4 separate regions of the Homo sapiens genome follow, and regions 1, 3 and 4 are each linked to region 2. Evidence: promoter capture Hi-C in human tissues and cell types (Jung and others, 2019). All regions are on one chromosome and are shown on one strand. The core of a region is centred on a gene start or on the middle of the fragment in contact, and the rest is flanking DNA. Distances in the headings are between cores, read along the strand shown. Region 1 has its middle 260 kb from the start of SMARCA2. Region 2 holds the start of KCNV2 (potassium voltage-gated channel modifier subfamily V member 2). Region 3 overlaps LOC101930053 (a long non-coding RNA gene). Region 4 overlaps LOC101930053 (a long non-coding RNA gene).

The links. Contacts are between HindIII fragments. The study calls those that stand out against the background at their distance.
Region 1: a contact is called between a fragment that was not itself captured here and the fragment with the promoter of KCNV2 in region 2, in 2 of the 25 tissues and cell types used here (aorta and dorsolateral prefrontal cortex).
Region 3: a contact is called between a fragment that was not itself captured here and the fragment with the promoter of KCNV2 in region 2, in 1 of the 25 tissues and cell types used here (lymphoblastoid cells).
Region 4: a fragment that was not itself captured here is called in contact with the fragment with the promoter of KCNV2 in region 2 in 3 of the 25 tissues and cell types used here (H1 embryonic stem cells, heart right ventricle and lymphoblastoid cells).

What each region holds. Positions count from the first base shown.
Region 1 is chr9:2,271,167-2,276,115 of GRCh38, forward strand. No RefSeq gene overlaps it. Among named protein-coding and RNA genes, the nearest start is that of SMARCA2, 260 kb to the left of the region's middle. The HindIII fragment of the contact is 3,689 bases long and covers 141-3,829 here.
Region 2 is chr9:2,713,971-2,718,759 of GRCh38, forward strand. KCNV2 (potassium voltage-gated channel modifier subfamily V member 2) reads left to right here and starts at 3,540. Exons shown (of 2, transcript NM_133497.4): 1 at 3,540-4,789. The coding sequence starts at 3,770. The HindIII fragment of the contact is 9,328 bases long and covers 1-4,789 here.
Region 3 is chr9:2,443,481-2,448,295 of GRCh38, forward strand. All of the region lies in intron 3 of LOC101930053 (a long non-coding RNA gene), which reads right to left. Among named protein-coding and RNA genes, the nearest start is that of VLDLR, 180 kb to the right of the region's middle. The HindIII fragment of the contact is 8,299 bases long and covers 1-4,815 here.
Region 4 is chr9:2,399,701-2,404,362 of GRCh38, forward strand. All of the region lies in intron 5 of LOC101930053 (a long non-coding RNA gene), which reads right to left. Among named protein-coding and RNA genes, the nearest start is that of VLDLR, 220 kb to the right of the region's middle. The HindIII fragment of the contact is 3,278 bases long and covers 1,323-4,600 here.

The sequences.
Region 1 (4,949 bases), core at 735-3,234, 440 kb before region 2:
TGAGGCCAAAGAGGCCTGGGTGAACTGCTCATCACCTATGGGGCATGTTCACCTGCAGCCACAGTACTGGTATGCTCAAAGACACAAAAGGCCCCAAAGATCCAGGAAAGTTTAGCATCGAAGAAAAGTAGATGTTAGAAAAATCCATGGAAAGCCAGGTTAAAAATTCTACTAAGGAGGATCGTTGACGGTTAGTGGAGTGCTAGAGTCAAGTATGGGAAGAAAAGAGGATGGTAGGAACCCGTCCTAAAGAATGTTTAATAATAGTTTATTGGAAAAGTAACTTTGGCATGGGACCAATAATTGAGGTTTAAAAGCATAGTGTACAAAAACAAAACAAAACATAGTGCACATGAGAACGGAGACATGCTGGTAGAAAACAGGAAGTTCAGGCTTCTGAAATGAGACATCAGAACTGGTGAATTGTGTGTAAGTCAGGCTGGCAGCCAAAGAAACAGCCCGGGAAGGTTGTCGGGGGAGGGGGGAGATACTTAAGCTCCACCTTCCTCTCACCTGATTGGGCCTTGAGTGGCTGGGGGTGGGACTAAATTGGCAGATGGGCATCAGCCTGGGTGTGTGGAAACCAACCCGAATATGATTTGAGGCAGATTCTCTCCCTCCTTCTTTCCCCCAGGTAGGCTATGTGCTCTAGTTTCCAGAGCCTCCACCTCTGTGCCATGCCCAAATCTTTCCTTCTACTGTGAGTCCTAAAAACTCCCCAGGTCTAATGCTAGTAGAAATCCTACTTCTTCACTGCAAGAATTTTTTTTTTTTTTTTTTTTTTTTTTTTTTTTTTTTTTTTTTTTTTTTTGAGACGGAGTCTCCCTCTGTCACCCAGGCTGGAGTGCGGTGGCGCGATCTCGGCTCCCTGCAAGCTCCGCCTCCCGGGTTCACGCCATTCTCCTGCCTCAGCCTCCTGAGTAGCTGGGACTACAGGCGCCCGCCACCACGCCCGGCTAATTTTTTTTTTTGTATATTTAATAGAGACGGGGTTTCACCGTGTTAGCCAGGATGGTCTCGATCTCCTGACCTTGTGATCCACCCGCCTCGGCCTCCCCAGGTGCTGGGATTACAGGCGTGAGCCACCGCGCCCGGCCTGCAAGAACTTCTCTCTACGTTAGCAAGAAACAAACACTTGAGAACTAAGTTACACTGCTGGAGGAACGATGAACGTCTCCTTACTGCCAATTACGTTAACCTTCCCAATGACTTGTTTTCACTTTTTAAATAGAAGCTTGTTAAATTAAAAGAATGCTTTGCTAATAGTGGGATTATAGGAGAGAAGTTTTTTTGAGATTGTGGTGATGGGGCAGGAGCTGTGATGTAGATGGGGTCCCTTAAAACTATTTGTTCTTCTTGTTCAGATTTTGATTCAGCTCATGTCTGTCAAGCCTTTAATAAGCACCAAGTCCCAAGCTACTTGTCATCCTCCCCACCATGATCAAGGTCTAGAGGATAGAGGTGGTTTCTTGAAAGTGAGAAAATGTTTATTTCATATTGTTTTCAACAAGACTAAATTGGAAAAAAAACCCTCAACATCCTTTTAGTGATTTCTACAGTGCTGGGAATTACTGGCTTTTTAAGTCCTTGTTCTCTACTGTAGAAGCTGCCTACTCATTCCAATTGCCTGATGTTTGCTAATTAAGCATCGTTAAAGGAAGAAATTAACTCATTTGTTAAATGCCACCTAAGTTTCTCTGTATATTCAGAAAAAGCATTAAACCCAATCCTGAGATGGTAATTTCAACCTAATTCAAACTCTTGCTTGCTTTAGGGATCAAAATAGTTATGCTGCAGGTTTACTAATATCAACAGTGGCACTGACGACAATAACGAATGATGACCCTGACAATGATCATGATGCTGAACGCTGTTTGTTACTTTTTAAATCCTTTGTTTCAAAAACTACCAAAAATTCTCCACATTTTTAGAAATCTTGTATTGAAGCATCGTCATTAGTATAATTTCTGATCAAGTAAATCCATTGCTGAGATGTTTATGCAGTATTCTCTGTGCAGAAAATAATACATGAATATAGGTAAGAATCTGATACAGATATTCAGGATGAGACACTTTTTAATTGAGAAAAATAATTGGACAGATTTTCATTCATTGCACATCTGTTTTCAAATCTATTTACTGTATTTGTCATCTCCCTTTCTCCTTTCATCTCCTTCTTCTCTCCATTGTCCTGCTTTTTTTTCTTTGGTTCTCCTCTCATCTTTCACTCTCCTTTTCAGCAAACAAATCAGGGAAAGAAACAGCTTCCTAGATAATGAATGGTATTTTAAATCTGGTTTGTTTTCAGGGACTCTAGTCCTGACTTAATGTATCAAACGAAGCTCCAGGATTTAATCAAGAAAGGAGGCCATCAGGAAAAAGAAAATCAACTCTGAAGCTTAGCTGAAAATAATTTGCATTTTGGGAGCTGTGCGTTAGGGATGTTTGGTCCAAGCTCTTTCATGGGGAGATAAAATGAAAATGATGTGCTTTATTACTTTGAAAGTCATACCCTTCTAATAACAGGGAGAATAGGAAGCTTTTCTGATTTATTCTGCTGAACCATCACTATCTGGAGTCATTTGCACTCATGGACCATTGGGAGAACATTAATTGACCAAAAAGAGGCTGCTGTTATTGTCGAGGCAGCATTGTGTATCCTTCTGAAATGGCTGATCCTGACCTGGGCTCTTGACTTTGCCCCCTCAGACTCTAGCTTTTATGGGACTGGATGGATCTACTGCCAGAGGTCAAGTAGTGCCAGACTGAAAAGCTTTATCAATTCCAGAACCTCACCGAGTACCTCCTACTAGGAAATTTGAATGTGAACACCTTGGTAACATCTCAACCACGCACTTGGGAGCTTTTGCCTATAATTCAAAGCAAACCGAAAAAGAAATTATTCCCACCATGTTGCAAAAATTGAAATGGAAAAAGAACTGTTGATTCTAATTCCTCAACCCAGGACTTCAGATGCCAATAATGATTGCAAAGAATAAACACCCACTGAGTGCATCTCAGAAACCGAATTGTTTTCTTGTTATTTAACATTTACAGTAGTAAGAGTGTGTTGGCACTGCTGGGCTCCTGTCAAGAGCCATTCCTGAAGTCCTCAGTGTTCCCACAGTGATGGCTGCACGTGTGAAAGGTTAGGAATCCAGGAATACTAACATGGAAAGTAAATTGTTCCTCCCGTTTCTTTTCTGTGCTGCCCTAGAAAGATCTTACACCTCTTGTCCTTTAAGGTAATAGCACTAGTTCCCATTCTTTTGGGTTCCATGTATATTAGGGCATCCACATCTACTGTTAAAAAAAAAGGAAGAAGGATTTTGAGGAAGAGCTTAAAGGAAAGGGGGTATTCAAAGAAGAAAATGCTTCAGGGCAATTGGGGGTTTCCTTCAGAGCAAAAGGGAGATTAGAGGAGAGGTGGGAGAGAGATAGAGAAGGATTTACCTGATGAATAACCCAGAACTTGGAAGTGATTCTGGGTAGGTCTCTCAAAACAGGAGAAAATTATTATATTTAAAAAGTGGGTGGCCCTTGAAGAAGAATCATTTGAAAATTCAGAAGCTACCTGGGTGCTGAATCATTGCTCTTCTCACTTCATTTTTGCAAGAATGAATAATTACACATTCGCCCCATTGCCTGTGCCGGGGAATGATGTAGTGAAGGACTTCATTTTGTTATATGCAGGACTGACCCTGGCTGTGCACTGGGGCATCTGCTGGCTCCTTCAAATTTATTCCTTATGCATATGACCCACCCTTTCCACACCCAACTTTGCTGACTATGCATAAAGCCAAAAAAGGAAGGGGCCCTAGTTACCTGAGGTCTGTGTACGTATGGGAGAGTGAGGGGTAGAAGGAAACTTGGCCTCATCTCTATCTGGGGGCTGCTGAATGCTTATCACACCCACAAGGGAGGGTCAGTAGCTAATGACCCCCATGTTAAAAATGAAAAAACTGAAACCCTAGATTGTTAGCCCGTGACTTGCTTTACCTTTGCCTTCTGTTCAGGAGGGATTTAATTCTGCTTAAAGTAAATGGCAACCACATAACCTGCCATGTTTTTGGACCCCTTGGTCACCTAATTTTCCCATTAGGCTTCAGCCCTGTTGGCACAATGAGGCTGGACGCTGAGAAGCCACAAGGGCCGGTGAGAGAGAATGGGAACCACAGTGAAATGTGCATTTTTGGGGAGACTCGATGGAGTGACCCAGAGCCAGCTTATTGCATCTTAGAAAGTTATAGGACAGAAAATTTATATCTTGTAGTTTAGTTTGAAAGTGGGGGAACAGACTATAAACTAGGAAAACAACGAAGTGCTTTTGAAAAAATATTTGCTGAACATCTTAAGGCATAGGTTTCTGAGCGTAGGGTCAGTGTTTTTATTTCTTCCCAGATACTCTGCCTTTAAATACAGATCTAGCGTCTGCTGTATGCCGTCTGAGACAAAGGTTAATTTCCAATGCTTGAATTATCCACACCACTTTCGGCCCTTATCCTGTAGGTGGAATTTGTGAAACATCCAAATAGTCACTGTCAGGCCTCTGAGCCCAAGCTAAGCCATCATATCCCCCGTGACCTGCACATATACATCCAGACGGCTTGAAGTAACTGAAGAATCACAAAAGAAGTGAAATTTAAATGGCCTGTTCCTGCCTTAACTGATGACATTACCTTGTGAAATTCCGTTTCCTGGCTCATCCTGGCTCAAAAATCTCCCCCACTGAGCACCTTGTGACCCCTACTCCTGCCCGCCAGAGAACAACCCCCCTTTGACTGTAATTTTCCTTTGCTTACCCAAATCTTATAAAACGGCCCCACTCCTATCTCCCTTCACTCTCTTTTCGGACTCAGCCCGCCTGCACCCAGGTGATTAAAAGCTTCATTGCTCACACAAAGCCTGTTTGGTGGTCTCTTCACACGGACGCGAGTGAAGTTTCGTGC
Region 2 (4,789 bases), core at 2,290-4,789:
CATAATTGGGAGCTGAACAATGAGAACACATGGACACAGGGAGGGGAACGACACACACCGTGGCCAGTCAGAATGAGGGGTGAGGGGAGGGAGAGCATTAGGACAAATAGCTAATGCATGCAGGGCTTAAAACTTAGATGACGGGTTGATAGGTGCAGCAAACCACCATGGCACATGTATACCCATGTAACAATCCTACACGTTCTGCACTTGTATCCTGGAACTTAAGGTAAAATTAAATTAAAAAAAAGAAAGAGGGTGTTTTCCACATTATGGGTCAACCATTGTTGGACAGTTTTATTAGAAACAGTCTATATATGTGTATACTCATCTAATGTTGCACTTACATGCATATACATCAGGGCAAAATCCAAGCAACTACTCATACCGGGGGTGTAAGAGTCACTTAAGTGGGGTCTACCCAGGTAATATTCCTCAATCTACTGTATGGATGTGGTGTTTGTGCTTAGCTTCTAGATGCCATACAAACATTACTAACTCCATAGTTTTTAAGTGTTGAAAGTCTGGATAAGTGGTAGTACATGGGTTGGGCATGGTGGCTTACACCTGTAATCCCAGCATTTTGGGAGACCAAGGTGGGTGGATCACCTGAGATCAGGAGTTCGGGACCAGCCTGGCCAACATGACAAAACCCCATCTCTACTAAAATTACAAAAATTAGCCAGGCATGCTGGCGGGCGCCTGTAATCCCAGCTAGTCAGGAGGCTGAAGCAGAAGAATTGCTTGAACCCAGGAGGCGGAGATTGCAGTGAGCCGAGATCACGCCACTGCACTCCAGCCTGGGCAACACAGTGAGACTCTGTCTCAAAAAAAAAAAAAAAAAGTAGTATATTATTTCAATTGAAAAAGAAGAAGATAAAAATATGAAAATGGTGATATTTTTACTTTTTTTTTTTTTGTCGAGACCAAGTCTCACTCTGTCACCCAGGCTGGAGTATAGCAGCATGATCTCAGCTCACTGCAACTTCTGTCTCCCGGGTTCAAACAATTCTTGTGTGTCAGCCTCCTGAGTAACTGGGATTACAGGCACCCGCCAACATGCCCAGCCCGGCTAATTTTTGTATTTTTAGTAGAGATGGGGTTTCACCAAGTTGGCCAGGCTGGTCTCAAACTCCTTACCTCGAGTGATCCACCTACCTCGGCCTCCCAAAGTGCTAGGATTACAGGCGTGAGCCACCACACCCAGTCTTTACTTTTTATAATAGTATAATTGGTTCTGAAGAGAAAAGGTGAATTTATGCAACATGCAAAATCTATTATGGCAGTACTCAGCACAATATAAAGAAAAGATAGACTTGGAAAGCAATTAAGTGTGTGGCTAGCAAAACAACATCAATATTGTATACCAAAAAGGGAACGCTAGAAATACATTTAGGAACTTAAAGGCTAAGCCTGGTAAGAAGCTTTACCATAAGCTTGTAGGTCTGAGGCCTATTGCAAGCTAAACAACATCAGTGAATGCCACACTAGCAGATGCAGACCTCATAACGTTACCCGTCTCAACAACTTTGAAGCATAGTTAAAACTCAACTAAGTGACAAAGATAGTACCACAAATCAGTGAGGAAATGATGGATTATGCAATTAATGTGTTGAAACATCTGGATAAAAGCTTGGAAAATAAAGTTAGGCCCCTACTTCACTCTTTACATCAAAATTAATTTCTGATGTTAAAACTATAAAAAGAAAAGTTTTATTTACAGAGAGGTGAAGCCTTTTCTAATACTACACAACACCCAGAAATCATAAAATAAAGATTTTTACATGGAAAAAATATTAAAGTTAAAACCGAAAAAAGGTGCAATCCATATCACAAGTAAAGGGTCTTTTTTCATAATGTATTAAGCTCTCCTACAAATCAATAAGAAAAATGTAAACAACTCAGTGGAAAATATAGGCAAAGTCGATGAACAGACAGTTCCCAGAAAAAGAAATAGCTTTTAATCACATGAAAAAGTGTTCAATCACATTTATAAGAAATACAAATTAACCCACACATCATTTTTCACTTACAAAATTGGTAGAGTTAAAAAAGTATAAGACATTTTCAACCGTTGATGAATTGTAAATTGGTAAAACTTTTATGGAGAGAAATGTAGCACTACTAATCAAAATTACAAATGTGCAATCTTTGACCTAGTAATCTCACCTCTAAGAATTTATCCTTTATATATCTTGAACATGTGTAAAGTGATGTACATATAAGGTATTTGTTGCATAATTGTCCATAAAAGCAAAGGTAGAAACATTCTGAATGTCTGTCATTAGGAAAGTGCTCAGTGGCTATTTTTAAAATAAGGTAGATATTTGTGTTCAAATATGAAAACATCTTTTATATGGCCAACTGGAAAAGGCAAAGTATATAGCATTCTATGATTTCTATTAATAATGAAGAGGTACTGAGATGATGGATAAAGGTAGGTATATTTTTGCTTGTATATGTTTAGAATATTTCTGGAAGGATAGCCAAAAGGTAGTAATAGTGGTTGCTTCCTTGAGGTACACCTGATGTCTTGAAATTATGGGTGGGAAAGACATAAACTTTCTACTGTAATATGTCTTTTTACCTTTACAATTTTTTATCATGAATGTGTATTAGCTATGCAAAATAAATTGAATAGAAAAACCAATTCCCTGCTCAAAGCAAATCCCTCCTGCTTCTCTCCTCCCCAGTATTTATTGCATCTTTTGTTATCCTTGCATGTTTATATCCCCAACAAAACCAAGAGTTCTTTGACTGCTACAACTGTGTCTCCATCGTGTTTGCATATCCAGCATTTGCACATTGCCTTAATCATGAAAAGGGTTTTTTTTTTTTTTTTAAAGTGATGTTTTGAAGGATGAAGAAGACCCTTTTTTTTTGGGTGGAAGTCAGGCTCCCTTTAAATATGGCCTAATATTGCTGAGCAGGGTTGTGAGGCCCTAAAAACGTCTTCCTACCATTCCTGGAATTCTACCTTGAAACATGTCTCTATCCTTTAAGAGAAAGGGAGGAGATAAAAAGGAGAGAGAGAAGCTGAAGCTGACTCAAAGATCCGACTGGACCTGAACAGTGCCCCAGGGAGAATCCATTTGAAAAAAAAAAAAAAATGTGATCATGTGAATGGACAAGAAGGAGATGGCTTTAGATCTTATATGCTCTAAACGAAGAGTTACGCTGAGAGGGAAACTGACTTGTCATGAAGTCAGCTTTGTTCCGTTGCTATGTGTCATCCCTGCTAATGGTGAGTTTACCTAGGGCAGAGGCTACCATCTCAACCATGAAGCTGAAGACACAGGCATCCGTATTCTATAGCTAATTCAGTTGATTTCATCTCAGCACACATACACTGAGCGCTTCCTAAGAGCGAGGTTGACCGACATTTTTATTAGCAATAATCTCTGCCTTCTTCTGATTACCTAGAGATTTAAGACCACATAATCATCCTCTACCTCACAGGGTCAAGGGAGTGGGGGAGGAAATGGGCTAAGAGGTTCTAAATCCCTCCTAACACTTGCTTCTTCCAAATCAGCAAGATTAGAGCAGTCAACAGCTGACTGCGTTCAGACCCTGCAGGCTGGGCTGGCCTGCCCAGGACCTGAGAAGGGGCAGCTCCGGTGGCAATGTCTGAGCCCCTAGCTGTGCTGGTCCGGGCTGGCCTCTCTAAGACAGTGCAGGCCACGTGATCCATCCTCCTAGAGGCAGTGAGCAGGTGAGGGACCCCTACCACAGCCAGGAGGAAAAAGCTAGGCGTCCACTTTCCGCAGCCATGCTCAAACAGAGTGAGAGGAGACGGTCCTGGAGCTACAGGCCCTGGAACACGACGGAGAATGAGGGCAGCCAACACCGCAGGAGCATTTGCTCCCTGGGTGCCCGTTCCGGCTCCCAGGCCAGCATCCACGGCTGGACAGAGGGCAACTATAACTACTACATCGAGGAAGACGAAGACGGCGAGGAGGAGGACCAGTGGAAGGACGACCTGGCAGAAGAGGACCAGCAGGCAGGGGAGGTCACCACCGCCAAGCCCGAGGGCCCCAGCGACCCTCCGGCCCTGCTGTCCACGCTGAATGTGAACGTGGGTGGCCACAGCTACCAGCTGGACTACTGCGAGCTGGCCGGCTTCCCCAAGACGCGCCTAGGTCGCCTGGCCACCTCCACCAGCCGCAGCCGCCAGCTAAGCCTGTGCGACGACTACGAGGAGCAGACAGACGAATACTTCTTCGACCGCGACCCGGCCGTCTTCCAGCTGGTCTACAATTTCTACCTGTCCGGGGTGCTGCTGGTGCTCGACGGGCTGTGTCCGCGCCGCTTCCTGGAGGAGCTGGGCTACTGGGGCGTGCGGCTCAAGTACACGCCACGCTGCTGCCGCATCTGCTTCGAGGAGCGGCGCGACGAGCTGAGCGAACGGCTCAAGATCCAGCACGAGCTGCGCGCGCAGGCGCAGGTCGAGGAGGCGGAGGAACTCTTCCGCGACATGCGCTTCTACGGCCCGCAGCGGCGCCGCCTCTGGAACCTCATGGAGAAGCCATTCTCCTCGGTGGCCGCCAAGGCCATCGGGGTGGCCTCCAGCACCTTCGTGCTCGTCTCCGTGGTGGCGCTGGCGCTCAACACCGTGGAGGAGATGCAGCAGCACTCGGGGCAGGGCGAGGGCGGCCCAGACCTGCGGCCCATCCTGGAGCACGTGGAGATGCTGTGCATGGGCTTCTTCACGCTCGAGTACCTGCTGCGCCTAGCCTCCACGCCCGACCTGAGGCGCTTCGCGCGCAGCGCCCTCAACCTGGTGGACCTG
Region 3 (4,815 bases), core at 1,245-3,744, 270 kb before region 2:
GTTTGCTGCCCATCATCTAAGTATTAACCCATCACCTAAGTATTAAGGCCAGCATGCGTTAGCTATTTTTCCTGATGCTCTCCCTTCCCCTGCCACCTCCTCCAACAGGCCCCAGTGTGTGTTGTTACTCTCCCTGTGTCCACGTGTTCTCATTGTTCAGCTTCCACTTATGAGTGAGAACATGTGGTGTTTGGTTTTCTGTTCCTGTGTTAGTTTGCTTAAGATAATGGCTTCCAGCTCCATTCATGTCCCTAGAAAGGACATGATCTTTTTCCTTTGTATGGCTGCGTGGTATTCCATGGTGTATGTGTACCACATTTTCTTTATTCAGTCTATTACTGATGGGCATTTAGGTAGATTCCATGTCTTTTTCATTGTGAATAGTGCAATGAATATACATGTCCATATATTTTCATAACAGAATAATTTATATTTCTTTGGGTATATACCCAGTAATGGGATTGCTAAGTCAAATGATATTTCTGGTTCTAGGTCTTTGAGGAATTGCCACACTGTCTTCCACAATGATTGAACTAATTTACATTTCCACCAACAGTGTAAAAGCATTCCTATCCCTTCATGGCCTGGAGAGCTTTTGTTGCTTCTTGATTTTTCAATAACTGCCATTCTGACTGACATGAGATGGTATCTCACTGTGGTTTTGATTTGCATTTCTCTAACAATCAGTGACGCTGAGCTTGTTTCATATGTTTTTTGGCTGCATAAATGTCTTCTTTTGAGAAGTGTCTGTTCATGTCCTATGCCCACTTTTTAATGGGGTTGTTAATTATTACTTAATATATAATTTTATGTCTTTTAAAGGAGCTGAGAGAGGAAAAGAAAGCAAGCATATCAACAGAATATACATTCTTCACAGCACCACACCGCACCTAATCAAAAATTGACCACATAGTTGGAAGTAAAGCACTCCTCAGCAAATGTAAAAGAACAGAAATTATAGCAAACTATCTCTCAGACCACAGTGCAATCAAACTAGAACTCAGGATTAAGAAACTCACTGCAAACTGCTCAACTACATGGAAACTGAACAACCTGCTCCTGAATGACTACTGGGTACATAACGAAATGAAGGCAGAAATAAAGATGTTCTTTGAAACCAATGAGAACAAAGACAAAACATACCAGAATCTCTGGGACGCATTCAAAGCACTAAATGCCAACAAGAGAAAGCAGGAAAGATCTAAAATTGAAACCCTAACATCACAATTAAAAAAACCAGAGAAGCAAGAGCAAGCACATTCAAAAACTAGCAGAAAGCAAGAAATAACTAAGATCAGAGCAGAACTGAAGGAAATAGAGACAAAAAAACCCTTCAAAAATTCAATGAATCTAGGAGCTGGTTTTTTGAAAAGATCAACAAAATTGATAGACTGCTAGCAAGACTAATAAAGAAGAAAAGAGAAGAATCAAATAGACGCAATAAAAAATGATAAAGGGGATATCACCACCGATCCCACAGAAATACAAACTACCATCAGAGAATACTATAAACACCTCTATGCAAGTAAACTAGAAAATCTAGAAGAAATAGATAAATTCCTCGACACATACACCCTCCCAAGACTAAACCAGCAAGAAGTTGAATCTCTGAATAGAGCAATAACAGGCTCTGAAATTGAGGCAATAATTAGTAGCTTACCAACCAAAAAAAGTCCAGGACCAGATGGATTCACAGCCAAATTCTACCAGAGGTACAAGGAGGAGCTGGTACCATTCCTTCTGAAACTATTCCAATCAATAGAAAAAGAAGGAATCCTCCCTAACTCATTTTATGAGGCCAGCATCATCCTGATACCAAAGCCTGGCAGAGACACAACAAAAAAAGAGAATTTTAGACCAATATCCCTGATGTGTTCATCAGGGATATTGTTGTTTCGATGCAAAAATCTTCAATAAAATACTGGCAAACCGAATCCAGCAGCACATCAAAAAGCTTATCCACCATGATCAAGTGGGCTTCATCCCTGGGCTGCAAGGCTGGTTCAACATATGCAAATCAATAAAAATAATCCAGCATATAAACAGAACCAACGACAAAAACCATATGATTATCTCAATAGATGCAGAAAAGGCCTTTGACAAAATTCAACAACGCTTCATGCTAAAAACTCTCAATAAATTAGGTATTGATGGTACGTATCTCAAAATAATAAGAGGTATCTATGACAAACCCACAGCCAATATCATACTGAATGGGCAAAAACTGGAAGCATTCCCTTTGAAAATGGGCACAAGACAGGGATGCCCTCTCTCACCACTCCTATTCAACATAGTGTTGGAAGTTCTGGCCAGGGCAATCAGGCAGGAGAAGGAAATAAAGGGTATTTTTTTTTCAATTAGGAAAAGAGGAAGTCAAATTGTCCCTGTTTGCAGATGACATGATTGTATATCTAGAAAACCCCATTGTCTCAGCCCAAAATCTCCTTGAGCTGATAGGCAACTTCAGCAAAGTCTCAGGATATAAAATCAATGTGCAAAAATCACAAGCATTCTTATACACCAATAACAGACACACAGAGAGCCAAATCATGAGTGAACTCCCATTCGCAATTGCTTCAAAGAGAATAAAATACCCAGGAATCCAACTTACAGGGGATGTGAAGGACCTCTTCAAGGAGAACTACAAACCACTGCTCAATGAAATAAAAGAGGATACAAACAAATGGAAGAACATTCCATGCTCATGGGTAGGAAGAATCAATATCGTGAAAATGGCCATACTGCCCAAGGTAATTTGTAGATTCGATGCCATCCCCATCAAGCTACCAATGACTTTCTTCACAGAATTGGAAAAAACTACTTTAAAGTTCATATGGAACCAAAAAAGAGCCTGCATGGCCAAGTCAATCCTAAGCCAAAAGAATAAAGCTGGAAGCATTGCGCTACCTGACTTCAAACTATACTACAAGGCTACAGTAACCAAAACAGCATGGTACTGGTACCAAAACAGAGATATAGACCAATGGAACAGAACAGAGCCCTCAGAAATAATGCTGCTTATCTACAACCATCTGATCTTTGACAAACCTGACAAAAACAAGAAATGGGGATACAATTCCCTATTTAATAAATGGTGCTGGGAATACTGGCTAGCCATATGTAGAAAGCTGAAACTGGATCCCTTCCTTATACAAAAATTAATTCAAGATGGATTAAATACTTAAATGCTAGACCTGAAACCATAAAAGCCCTAGAAGAAAATCTAGGCAATACCATTCAGGACACAGGCATGGGCAAGAACTTCATGTCTAAAACACCAAAAGCAATGGCAACAAAAGCCAAAATTGACAAATGGGATCTAATTAAACTAAAGAGCTTCTGCACAGCAAAAGAAACTACCATCAGAGTGAATAGGCAACCTACCACGAATGGGAGAAAATATTTGCAATCTACTCATCTGACAAAGGGCTAATATCCAGAATCCACAATGAGCTCAAATAAATTTACAAGAAAAAATCAAACAACCCCATCAAAAAGTGGGCAAAGTATATGAACAGACACTTCTCAAAAGAAGACATTTATGCAGCCAAAAGACACATGAAAAAATGCTCATCATCACTGGCCATCAGAGAAATGCAAATCAAAACCACAATGAGATACCATCTCACACCAGTTAGAAAGGCTATCATTAAAAAGTCAGGAAACAACAGGTGCTGGAGAGGATGTGGAGAAATAGGAACACTTTTACACTGTTGGTGGGACTGTAAACTAGTTCAACCATTGTGGAAGTCAGTGTGGCGCTTCCTTAGGGATCTAGAACTAGAAATACCATTTGACCCAGCCATCCCATTACTGGGTATATACCGAAAGGATTATAAATCATACTGCTATAAAGACACATGCACACGTATGTTTACTGTGGCACTATTCACAATAGCAAAGACTTAGAACTAAGCCAAATGTCCAACAATGATAGACTGGATTAAGAAAATGTGGCACATGTACACCATGGAATACTATGCAGCCATAACAAATGATGAGTTCATGTCCTTTATAGGGACATGGATGAAGCTGGAAACCATCATTCTCAGCAAACTATCGCAAGGGCAAAAAACCAAACACCGCATGTTCTCACTCATAGGTGGGAATTGAACAATGAGAACACATGGACACAAGAAGGGGAACATCACACACCAGGGCCTGTTGTGGGGTGGGGGGAGGGGGGAGGGATAGCATTAGGAGATATACCTAATGTTAAATGACGAGTTAATGGGTGCAGGACACCAACGTGGCACATGTATACATATGTAACTAACCTGCACGTTGTGCACATGTACCCTAAAACTTAAAGTATAATAAAAAAAAAAGAAAGCAAGCATATATTTTGGGGGGGTTGTAATATTAACCAGCTAATTTGCTATTTCTTGTTCATCTTTTCCTATAGTTTTCAGTGAGCATATGGTGTCCTTTCCTTGCTATAATACAGCTTTGTCCACCTACCTCCTTTCTGCTGTTATGATCAAGTATATTATATTTCTACATGTTATAGGTCTGCAATATAATTACACACATATTGCTTTATACCATATTTTTTTAAGTAAGTTAAGAGAAAGGAGAAGAAATATGCATTTATGCTATCTTTCATAATTACATAATCACCTCTCTTAGTGCTTGGTTTCTTTATGTAGATTTAAATTACTGTGGTCACTTGCTTTCAGCCTGAAGAACTTCCTTTGCTATTTCTTGTAAGGCCATTTCTGTATTGTAGCAGCTTTAGATAGTGATTTTCCTCCGTTTCCTGTGCTTGTTCATGTTACTTGCTTATTTATTTAGTAACTTGGGTAGGGTATTTTA
Region 4 (4,662 bases), core at 1,712-4,211, 310 kb before region 2:
TCTTTCTCTTGCCTGATTGCCCTGGCCAGAACTTCCAATACTATGTTGAGTAGGAGTGGTGAGAGAGGGCATCCTTGCCTTATGCCGATTTTCAAAGGGAATGCTTCCAGCTTTTGCCCATTCAGTATGATATTGGCTGTGGGTTTGTCATAAATAGCTCTTATTATTTTGAGGTATATTCCATCAATACCTAGTTTATTGAGTGTTTATAGCATGAAAGAGTATTAAATTTTATCAAAAACTTTTTCTGCATCTACTGAGATAATCGTGGTTTTGGTCACTGGTTCTGTTTATGTGATAGATTACATTTATTGATTTGCGTATGTTGTACCAGCCTTATATCCCATGGATGAAGCAGACTTGATCGTGGTGGATAAGCTTTTTAATGTACTGCTGGATTCAGTTTGCCAGTATTTTACTGAGGATTTTCGCATCAATGTTCATCAGGGATATTGGCCTGAAATTTTGTTGTTGTTGTTGTGTCTCTGCCAGGTTTTGGTATCAGGATGATGCTGGCCTCATAAACTGAATTAGAGAGGATTCCCTCTTTTTCTATTGTTTGGAATAGTTTCAGAAGAAATGGTACCATCTCCTCTCTGTACCTCTGGTAAAATTCGGCTGTGAATCCATCTGGTCCCGGGCTTTTTTTTGGTTGGTAGGCTACTAACTACTGCCTCAATTTCAGAACTTGTTATTGGTCTATTCAGGGATTCAACTTCTTCCTGGTTTAGTCTTGGGAGGGTGTATGTGTCCAGGAATTTATCCATTTCTTCTAGATTTTCTAGTTTATTTGCATAGAGGTGTTTATAGTATTCTCTGATAGTAGTTTGTATTTCTGTAGGATCAGTGGTGATATCCCCTTTATCATTTTTTATTGTGTCTATTTGATTCTTCTCTCTTTTCTTCTTTATTATTCTGGCTGTTGGTCTATACACTTTGTTATTGTTTTCAAAAAACCAGCTGCTGGATTCATTGATTTTTAAAAGGGATTTCCGTGTCTGTGTCTCCTTCAGTTCTGCTCTGATATTAGTTATTTCTTGTCTTCTGCTAGCTTTTGAATTGTTTGCTCTTGCTTCTCTAGCTCTTTTAATTGTGATGTTAGGGTGTCGATTTTAGATCTTTTCTGCTTTCTCTTGTGGGCATTTAGTGCTATAAATTTCCCTCTAAACACTGCTTATCTGTGTTCCAGAGATGCTGGTACATTGTGCCTTTGTTCTCATTGGTTTCAAAAAACTTATTTGTTTCTGCCTTAAATATGTTATTTACCCAGTAGTCATTCAGGAGCAGGTTGTTCAGTTTCTATGTAGTTGTGCGGTTTTGAGTGAGTTTCTTAATCCTGAGTTCTAATTTGATTGCACTGTGGTGTGAGAGACTGTTTGTTATGATTTTCATTCTTTTTCATTTGCTGAGGAGTGTTTTATTTCCAATTATGTGGTCAATTTTAGAATAAGTGTGATGTGGTGCTGAGAAGAATGTATATTCTGTTGATTTGCGGTGGAGAGTTCTATAGATGTCTATTAGGTCCACTTGGTCCAGAGCTGAGTTGAAGTCCTGAATATCCTTGTTAATTTTCTCTCTCATTGATCTGTCTAATATTGACAGTGAGGTGTTAAAGTTTCCCACTAAGATTGTGTGGGAGTCTAAGTCTCTTTGCAGGTCTCTAAGAACTTGCTTTATGAATCTGGGTGCTCCTGTATTGGGTGCATATATATTTAGGATAGTTACCTCTTCTTGTTACATTGATCCCTTTACCATTATATAATGCCCTTCTTCGTCTTTTTTGATTTTTGTTGATTTAAAGTCTGTTTATCAGAGACTAGGATTGCAACCCCTGCTTTTTCTTCTTTCCATTTGCTTGGTAAATCTTCCTCCATCCCTTTATTTTGAGCCTATGTGTGTCTTTGCACGTGAGCTGGTTCTCCTGAATACAGCAAACCGATGGGTCTTGACTCTTTATCAAATTTGCCAGTGTGTCCCTTTTAATGGGGGCATTTAGCCCACTTACATTTAACATTAATATTGTTATACATGAATTTGATCCTGTCATTATGATGCTAGCTGGTTATTTTGCCCATTAGTTGATGCAATTTCTTCATAGTGTCGACGGTCTTTACATTTTGGTTTGTTTTTGCAGTGGCTGGTACTGGTTGTTCCTTTCTATATTTAGTACTTCCTTTAAAAGCTCTTGTAAGGCAGGCCTAGTGGTGACAAAATCTCTCAGCATTTGCTCGTCCATAAAGAATTTTATTTCCCATCACTTATGAAGCTTAGTTTGGCTGGATATCAAATTCTGGGTTGAACATTCTTTTCTTTAAGAATGTTGAATATTGGCCCCCACTTTCTTCTGGCTTGAGGGTTTCTGCAGAGAGATCCACTGTTAGTCTGATGGGCTTCCCTTTGTGGGTAACCCAACCTTTCTCTCTGGCTGTCCTTAACATTTTCTCCTTTATTTCAACCTTTGTGAATCTGTTAATTATGTCTTGGGGTTGCTTTTCCTGAATTTGAATGTTGGTCTGTCTTGCTAGGTTTGGGAAGTTCTCCTGCATAAAATCCTGAAGTGTGTTTTCCAACTTGTTTCTATTCTCCTTGTCACTTTCAGGTACACCAATCAATTGTAGGTTTGGTCTTTTCACATAGTCCTATATTTCTTGGAGGCTTTGTTCATTTCTTTTCATTCTTTTTTCTCTAATCTTGTCTTCATACTTTAAGTTGATCTTCAGTCTCTGGTATCTTCAATCGATCTACTGTTTGATCGATTTGGCTATTGATACTTGTGTATGCTTCATGAAGTTTTCGTGCTGTGTTTTTCAGTTCCATCAGGTCACTTATGTCCTTTTCTAAACTGGTTATTCTAGTTAGCAATTCCTCTAACCTTTTATCAGGATTGTTAGCTTACTTGCATTGGGTTACAACATGCTCCTTTAGCTTGAAGGAGTTTGTTATTACCCACATTCTGGAGCCTATTTCTGTCAATTCATCAAACTCATTCTCTGTCTAGTTTTGTTCCCTTGCTGGCAAAGAGTTGTGATCCTTTGGAGAAGAAGAGGCATTATGGTTTTTGGCATTTTCAGGCTTTTTGCACTGTTTTCTCCTCATCTTTGTGGATTTATCTACCTTTGGTTTTTGCTCTTGGTGACCTTTGGATGGAGTTTTTGCATGGTCATCCTTTTTGTTGATGTTGATGCTATTGCTTTCTATTGTTAGTTTTTCTCCTAGCAGTCAGGCCCCTCTTTGCAGGTCTGCTGGAGTTTTCTGGGGGTCCACTCCAGAACCTGTTTGCCTGGGTATCACCAGAAGAGGCTGCAGAATAGCAAAGATTGCTGCCTGTTCCTTCCTCTGGAAGCTTCGTCCCAGAGGTCACCCGCCAGATACCAGCTGGAGCGCTCCTGTATGAGGTGTCTGTTGACCTCTGCTGGGAGGTGTCTCCCCATCAGGAGGCATGGGGGTCAGGGACCCACTTGAGGAGGCAGTCTGTCCCTTAGCAGAGTTCAAGCACTGTGCTGGGAGAACCGCTGCTGTCTTCAGAGCTGGCAGGCAGGAATGTTTAAGTCTGCTGAAGCTCTACCCACAGCCATCCCTTCCTCCAGGTGCTCTGTCCCAGGGAGATGGGAGTTTTATCTATAAGCCCCTGACTGGGGCTGCTCCCTTTCTTTCAGAGATGCCCTGCCTAGAGAGGAGGAATCTGGAGAGCATTTTTTTTTTTTTTTGATGGAGTCTCACTCTGTCACCCACACTGGGGTGCAGTGGTGCAATCTCAGCTCACTGCAACCTCCACCTCCCAGGTCCAAGCAATTTTCCCACCTCAGCCTCCCAAGTAGCTGGGATTACAGGCACCTGCCATCATGCCTGGTTAATTTTTATATTTTCATAGAAATGGAATTTCACCATGTTGGCCAGGCTGGTCTTAAACCCCTGACCTCAGGTGATCTGCCTCCCTCAGCCTCCCAAACTGCTGGGATTATAGGCGTGAACCACTGTCCCCAGCTGAGAAGTGATCTTGAGATCTTGCCTAATCTCAGAGCTTAGCACATGGCTTTGCTCATCTACAGATTCCAAACAGCAGTATTACCTAGTGAGAGAAGACAATCTGTAACTCTGCTCAGAGGCAATCACAAAACTTAGCTAATAGCTCTGCCTAACTACAGAGTCCAGCCAGTGATCTCATCAAACTCTAGAGCACAGCCAGCATTTCCATTTGACCTCAAAGCGGTCAGCAGTACAGCCCAGCTAGAGAATCTGACAGCAAGGCCTGCCTGCCAGGACTTGCCACCAGCTGGGCCATCCAGAATCCCAGGCTAGACTAAACAGTGAAGGTTTATTGCTACTGAAGAAAATTAGCAAAGACTGGAAGAGGTAGCCATTTCTTCAAATGTGTAGACACTAGTGTAAGGTTTACAAAGATCCAGAGAAATATCACACCAAAAAAAGCAACTAATAAATCTCTAATAATGGACCCTGAATAAATGGAGATCTATAAAATGACTGACAAGGAATTTAGAATGATTATCTTAAAGAAGCTTTGTGAACTAAAAGAAAATATCGATAGAAAATTAAATACAATTTGAAAAACAATTTATGAAGAAAAGTGAGAAGTTTTAAAAAGAAACAGAATCATTTTTAAAAATCAAATAGAATCCTAGAGATAAAAAATACAACAACTGA